2 separate regions of the Homo sapiens genome follow, and region 1 is linked to region 2. Evidence: promoter capture Hi-C in 16 types of primary human blood cells and fetal thymus (Javierre and others, 2016). All regions are on one chromosome and are shown on one strand. Each heading gives the region's core, a stretch centred on a gene start or on the middle of the fragment in contact. The rest is flanking DNA. Distances are from core to core; before and after follow the strand shown.

What was found. The method cuts DNA at HindIII sites, captures the fragments that hold promoters and counts their contacts. A CHiCAGO score of 5 or more calls a contact.
Region 1: a fragment that was not itself captured here is called in contact with the fragment with the promoter of OCA2 in region 2 in 2 of 17 cell types (M0 macrophages and M1 macrophages); the score reaches 6.2 in M0 macrophages.

Annotation. Positions count from the first base shown.
Region 1 is chr15:28,258,811-28,262,512 of GRCh38, forward strand. It overlaps HERC2 (HECT and RLD domain containing E3 ubiquitin protein ligase 2), which reads right to left. Exons shown (of 93, transcript NM_004667.6): 16 at 1,967-2,160. Among named protein-coding and RNA genes, the nearest start is that of HERC2, 62 kb to the right of the region's middle. The HindIII fragment of the contact is 1,424 bases long and covers 1,523-2,946 here.
Region 2 is chr15:28,097,219-28,100,919 of GRCh38, forward strand. It overlaps OCA2 (OCA2 melanosomal transmembrane protein), which reads right to left and starts at 2,097. Exons shown (of 24, transcript NM_000275.3): 1 at 2,006-2,097. RefSeq lists an enhancer at 1,392-2,044. The HindIII fragment of the contact is 17,781 bases long and covers 1-3,701 here.

The DNA of each region.
Region 1 (3,702 bases), core at 985-3,484, 160 kb after region 2:
GATCAACAAAATTGAAAAACTCTAGGAAAACTGACAAAGAAAAAAACAGAAAAGATACAAATTATCAGAATCAAGAATGAATGAAGGGACATCACCGCAGGCCCCACAGACTTCAGACAGCAAGAGAATACTAAGGAAAACTTGACACGTAAAAATCAGACAACGTAGATGAAGTAAAGCACATCTGAGGGCCAAAAATCAGGAAAATCCTCCTAGAAACAAACAGGTCACCTGAATACTTCTATATCTGTTAAAGAAATTGAAGTTGCAAAATCTTTTTTTTGTTTGTTTTTGTTTTTTTGAGACGGAGTTTCGCTCTTGTTGCCCAAGCTGGAGTGCAATGGCGCCATCCCGGCTCACTGCAATTTCTGCCTCCCAGATTCAAGCGATTCTCCTGCCTTAGCCTCCTGAGTAGCTGGGATTACAGGCGCACATCACCAAGCTCGACGAAATTTTTGTATTTTTAGTAGAAACAGGTTTCACCATGTTAGCCAGGCTGGTCTCAAACTCCTGACCTCAGGTGATCCACCCATCTCGGCCTCCCAACGTGCTGGGATTACAGGCGTGAGCCACTGTGTCTGGCGTAAAATCTTTTAGAAAGCAATCTCCAGACTCAGATGGGATTCAAAAACATTTAAAGAAGAAATAACACTAATTCTACACAATCCCTTATAGAAAATGAAAAAGGACGGAACACATGCCAATATTTTGTATAAGGTCAGCTTTCCCCTGATAGAAAGTCAGACAAGATAGTATAACACAAAGAAAGAAAACCACAAACCAACATCTCTAATGAGCATCAACAGAAAAATCCTCAACAACCTGTTAGCAAGTCAAATTTTGCAATACAGAAACAGAATAGGGCCAGGCACAGTGGCTCACACCTGTAATCCCAGCACTTTGGGATGCCAAGGAGGATGGATCACTTGAGGTCAGGAGTTGGAGACCAGGCTGGCCAACATGGTGAAACCCCATCTCCACTAAAAAGAAAAAAAAAAAATACAAAAATTAGCCAGGCATGGTAGTGCACACCTATAATCCCAGCTACTCAGGAGGCTGACGCAGGAGAATTGCGTGAACCCAGGAGGCACAGGTTGCAGAGAGCTGAGATTGCACCAATGCACTCCAGTCTGGGTGACAGAGTGAGACTCCATCTGGCAAAAAAAAAAAAAAAAAAAAAGAGTAGTAAATTGTGGCCAAGTGATGCCTATCCAAGTAACACAAGGCTTGATCAGTATTTAAAAATCAGGCTGGTGCAGTGCCTCACACCTGTAATCCCAGCACTTTGGGAGGCCAAGGCAGGCAGATCGCTAGAGCTCAGGAGTTCGAGACCAGCCTGGGCAACATAGTGAAACCGTATCTCCAAAAAAGAAAAAAAAAAAATGTTTAAGAAAAAGAAAAGTAAAAAGCATCATGTAATACACCATACTAACACACTAAAGAAGGAAAACTGCATGACCATTTCATTTGAGAAGATTAAAAGCATTTAACAAATTTTAACATCCAGTCAGGATTTTTTAGAAGCTTCTAAAACGGGGAATTAAAGACACTCCCTTAATCTGATAATAAGGCATCTACATAAATACCCACAGCTAACATCACAGTTGATGGTGAAAGACTGAACTGCCTTCCCCTACAGTCAGGATCAAGGCAGGGTGCCCACTGTCACCTCTCCTATTCAGCTTCACACTGCAAGTCCTGGCCAGGGCAATCAGGCCGGGAAAAGACATAAAAGGCGAGCAGACTGGAAAGGAAGAAATGAAACTGCCCCTCTATACAGATAGCATTTAATTGTCCATGAAGAAAACCCAAGGAAACTACAGTGAAGCTCATAATAAATGAGTTTAGCACAACTGCAGGACACAAGAACAACAAACAAAACTCAGTGGTATTTTCTACATACTGGTAATGAACAACTGGAAACCAAAATCCTCCAAAATACCAAATCAAGCTCTATATTCAGTACCTGGGCAGGCCCACAGGCAATTCCCACTATGTGTTTGGTGTCCAGTCCTGGCAATGCTGCAGGTTCTGGCTTGGTCACGCGCAAGGTGTCAAAGTGCTGGCACTGGTCGTTGCTCCCCCAGCTGTGGACCTCGCTGTCCTCAGTCAGAGCCAGGCAGTGGGTGGAGCCTGCAGCCACATCAATCACCTTCTTCCCTACAAGGGAAGAGGGATGCAGATGCAGCTTCAAGCCTATGACTTCCGCTGCAAGAAAGATATTTCCTAGGCCATTCAGGTCAGACAGCTTTTAACATTAACTTCTTGAGGATAATCTGCTTTGCTTTAATATTAAGCACAATTCATTTGCTTTGGGTGTGTTATTAAAACTGCTGTATTTTGTCAGCTACAATTCGTTAGGACCCACAGTCTACAAAGATCATAATACTAGGATACAAAAAGGATCTGTTTTTTTTTCTCCTCCTCATTCAGATTTTCAGTCAGAAAGAAACAAGGTGCTTTTAATTAACTATTAGATCATATTCTCCCATCCGAGATTTAACAATGCATAGCACACTCTTCAGTGAGGAAGGTTTCCTAAGAAGAAATCTATTGTTCTCTCAGTTAGATATAACTGATATTTAAAACATTGTTTCTATTTAAACACTTAGCAAAATATTCTATTTTTCCTTCCTGGTAAATCTAACATGGCCAACACAAAGGGTGTTTCGCAGAAATGTCAGTATATAAAATAATTCAGCTGAAAAACCACACTGCAGTAAGGGGAAAAATTCTATCCTAGGAACTTACCATAAGTTAACATCAGCAACAAAAAAGGTGTTTCTCAACAGTAATTTAAATACCCTCAAAGTAAATGATTTCTATACTAATGATTGTCGTAGCTTTCCTATACTAATGGAGGGGAATATAAACAAGAAGGCAAATGAAATTCAAATACCATTCAATGACACAGAGTAAACTTCTTACTCTGCAACTTATCTCAGAAGCTTAGAAAACAATAAACACCATATGGGCGCACAAAACTCTCAGTCATCAAAATATTAACCTGCTTTAAAATAAAACTAATGGAGAAGGGAACTGGCAAGTCTCACTTAAAAGTCCCACTTCCAAACCCACTTGGTAAAGAACCAAACACACAAAGAATGTATGTAGTACCAGGACCCAACGAACTACAGCCCCCACACACAACGCAGCCCAAGGCCTGCTTCTGTGAAGACACTGGTGTTGGAACACTGCCAGGTCCACCTACTTCAAATACAATCTGGTCCTTTAAGAAAAAGGCTGCCCACCCCTGAGAGAAGAGAACCCTAAAGAGTCCATCTGATGTACCTCTCACACTGCCTTTTCCCTTCTTCCTACTTTCTTGTCAATTTGTCTGCCCTTCAACAGTTCTCGATTAGGATGAAGACTATCTCCCAACCACTAGGCCAGGTGGTACGGAAAAGTCCTGTTTTACCTTAGAAAGATCCCTCCAACATCATAGTTTTGATGGCCCCCACCCCAACTTCCTGCAGCATAACATCCCTAGTAAGAACACCACAGAAGAATCTCAGGGTCTTCTTGCAGAGACTCCCATCCTCTCTGCCTGCACCGGCAGCCCACACTGAAGGCGCCGGCACTCTTATCTACATACCTTGGCTTCCATCTCTTGCCTCCAACTACAATGCATGCTGGACACCTTTGCAACTGAGCAAGCAGGAATCACCCACCAAGGATGAGTTCACATGAGGGTGTCCCAAG
Region 2 (3,701 bases), core at 847-3,346:
CGGACCCCGCCGCGCTCCGCCGAAACTGCGCGGGTCCCGCGGGTGGCCGGCGCAAGAGCCACAGCCCGCGACAAGCCGGCTGCCTGCAGGTCAGTGACAGAACCCCAAATGGAAACTGCGGAAACCCAACAACCAGCGAGTGAGCTGGTAGAGCCAGCGGCCCCAAGGAGCTGAGGGAGCTCCGGCTTGTGGAGTCTCTTCTCACATTTCCAGCATATGGAGAATGCCACACTGGGTCAGCCCCTGCCCCAGATCCTGCCCCCTGGCCTCCAGGCTCTGGGCTTTCCTCCCCTCTGTGGTAGCCTTTATCTCCATTGCAAGCCATCTTTCCACTACTAACAGTTAAAAGCCTCCCCTTTCTCTCTACTCTCCCAAGAAACCTCATCCTCACCTGTGGACAGGTGGCCGCCCAACTCTCTTCTGCAGCTCAAACCACTGTGTCCATCTACCTCTTTGTGTCCCTAGACATAAAGGTACCCAAAACTCCCAGAGTGCTGAAGCCACACCTGGCCTTTCCCAGGGGCCCACTGATCCCACCATCCATCACCCATCACCAACTGGGAATCCCCCCTGCAGCTCACCAGTGCTTCCCTGCCCCGGCCTGGCAACCACACTCAGTGGGAAGGCCTTGGCAGTGGCTTTCTTCAACTCCCCAGCTGCTCCCAACCCCCCAGCCACAGTGATCTTTCCAAAATGCATATGGCCTCAAACTCAAAATATTTCCTTGCTGCCTGCCACTCCAGCATAGAAACGGGGACCCAGGTGACACAGGTGTCATGCCGCTGGGTTTCCAGGGACAGCCAGGACCTCCCCATTCCTGGTATTCCTGATATCCTCAGATCTCAGCTGCTCCAGGGGCTGGAGGTTGCGTTCTTCTCATAAAACAAGAACAGTATAGGCATTTGCTTTTCATCAGTGTAATGAAACTTTAGGGACTTATGATCCTAAATCACATTACACCAATGTGAACTGCACTCAAATTGTTGTAAACTAAATTTGCAGAACAAGCAGTTTTTGTGCAATTCTTTGCAGTCTACTCAGCTCTTTCATCTCTGTGTTCAGGTTCAATCCTCATTAGTTCTTCTATGAGAGATAGTTATCCCCAGATGCGTTCAATGCTCAGCTCCTTGCCCTGGCAGGCCCCGTCCCAGGGTCCTGGATGGCAGATGCCATGCCCGCCCCGCGAAGCTCAGGCTCACCAAGCAAGCAAACCGCAGCTGGTTTAGGTAGACAGCAGCTGCCCACAACTGCTAACAGCCTCGGGTTTCTTTTCCTCAGAATCACTCACCCTAAATCTACACATTGTAGACTGTCACATTGGTCTAAGTAGTGCTCCTCAAAGTGCACTGCACATTAGAGTCACCTGGGGAGCTTCACCGCCGGGCCCCAGGCTCTGATTCGCCCAATGGGAAGGGAGCACCGGGCACTTGTCCTGAGCCCCTGGCCCCTGCCTGGTTCTGCAAACCCAGAGCGTCCACATACCAGGCTTCCTGTGCTTAACATTGTGTCCTTGAAAAGAGCTAGCTGCACTAATGCCCATTGATTTCACTGTGTGTGACCACAGTAAAGAGAAGCAGCTTTGAGGGATTTAGTGTTTTCACTCCAGTGCATTCCATTCTAAGGAAACGCCTGACCACGGCTCATGGCTAGGAGGCCCCGCAGTGCCAGATGCTGCCCTGGAGTTCAAGTGGAACATTTGCTGTCTGAACCTTTCCAAACTCCCCCCACCCATGACCTCATGGCCCACCAGGGGGCGACTTTTTCCTGGGTCGCCTGGCAGAGAGCCGGAGGGGGTGCTCAGGGGGCAGCTGCTGCAGGCCCAGGCGGACTCAGCCGCGCTAGGTCGGCTCCGTCGCACCCGTCTGTGCACACTAACCTTTAGGGGAACTTGCCTTGCTTCCTAAGCCGCGACTCAGCCGGGGCTGTGTAAACCCTCCCTGCCTGTTCCCAGGCTAGTCTGGCTCCTCGCCTCCTTCCTCCCGACCGCGGAGCACGTGCACTTTACCTGCGCACTTGCAGATCTTTCTCCAGGAGTGAGTTTAAGGTCCGCACCTCCGCTCTGGATGGTGAGCGGAGCACAGCCTTCGAAGTAAGAACTCAGAGGGAGCTCGGCGCTCCCGCAGCGGGTCCCCCACCCAGGCACGCCCCCGGCCCGGCCCCGCCCACAGCACTCCCCACTCGGCCCCGCCCACAGTGCGGCCACGCCCGTAGCACGCCCCTCCCGGCCACGCCCACAAAGCTGCCCACATGGCCCCGCCCACAGCTCGCCCGCTCCGCACCCCCGGCCCCTCAGCTCCCCAGCCCCCGGCGGCGCGGGCTGAGAGCAGCTCCGTCTAAGGCCACGCCGCCCCGGCGTCCCCGACAGCGCTCTCCGCGGGGATAGTTTCCAGCTTTACCTCTAAAGAGGCGGCCCAGGACTGCGGACAGGCTTTTCCCTATGAACAAGAACGGGGAAATGCTCAGTGAACATTCTGTTCCCTTCAGAGCTCTCCCAGCGGGCACTGAGAGGCCCTCCAGCTAGGACGCCAAGGTTACACTTGCCGACAGCCCCTCCTGCAGCACAGACACACACACGAGATACACAGACACACACAGATACACAGACACACACAGATACACACAGACACACACACAGATACAGAGATAGACACGATATACACAGACACAGATACACAGATACACATACACAGAGACACACACAGAGACACAGCAATACACAGACACACAGATACAGGACACAGATACACAGATGACACACAAGGACACATGCAGATACACAGACACACATACACAGATACACACAGACACATGCACAGATACACAGAGACACACACACAGGCACAGAGATACACACAGATACACAGATATACACACAGACACAGATACACAGACACACACAAATATATACAGATACTCAGACACAGATACACAGACACAGGTACAGACACACAGATACAGATACAGAGATACATACAGATACAGAGATACAGAGACACACACAGATACACACACGGACACACACAGAGATACACAGACACAGATATACACAGGCACACAGATACAGACACACAGATACACACATGCACAGATACACACAGATACAGAGATCTACACACAGAGATACACAGACACACAGATACGCAGACACAGAGATACACAGATACATAGACACATACAGACACACACACAGATACATGCACAGACACACACGCAGATACACATATACAGATATACAAACACAGATATACGCACAGACACACACAGATACACACACAGATACAGACACACACACAGATACACGCACAAACACATGGAGACAACACAGCTACAGACACACACACAGCTGCAGTGGCCAGGCCCTGCACAGGAATTGGCAGGAAGTAAGAGGCTCCATCCACAGTGTAACAGCAGAGCTGAAAGAGATCTCATGCCTTATAACAGAGCACATTGCACAGCCACAGGGTGGGCCAGGGGTTGCCCTGGTAGCAGGGACCGAGGATGTCCTCGGCATGGCAGGCTCCAGGACACTGAAGTTCCCAGCCAGGGCCCTGACAGCAGGAGAGCCCGAGATCTCTGAGACCACATTCACTGTCGCATGTGCAGACCCCTCAGTTCAGACCGCCGTGTGCGTTAGGTGTGGATATGGCTGGCAAGCAGCCTGCATGGTGACCCCCATCCTTGTGGGATGGCGGCTCCAGGGA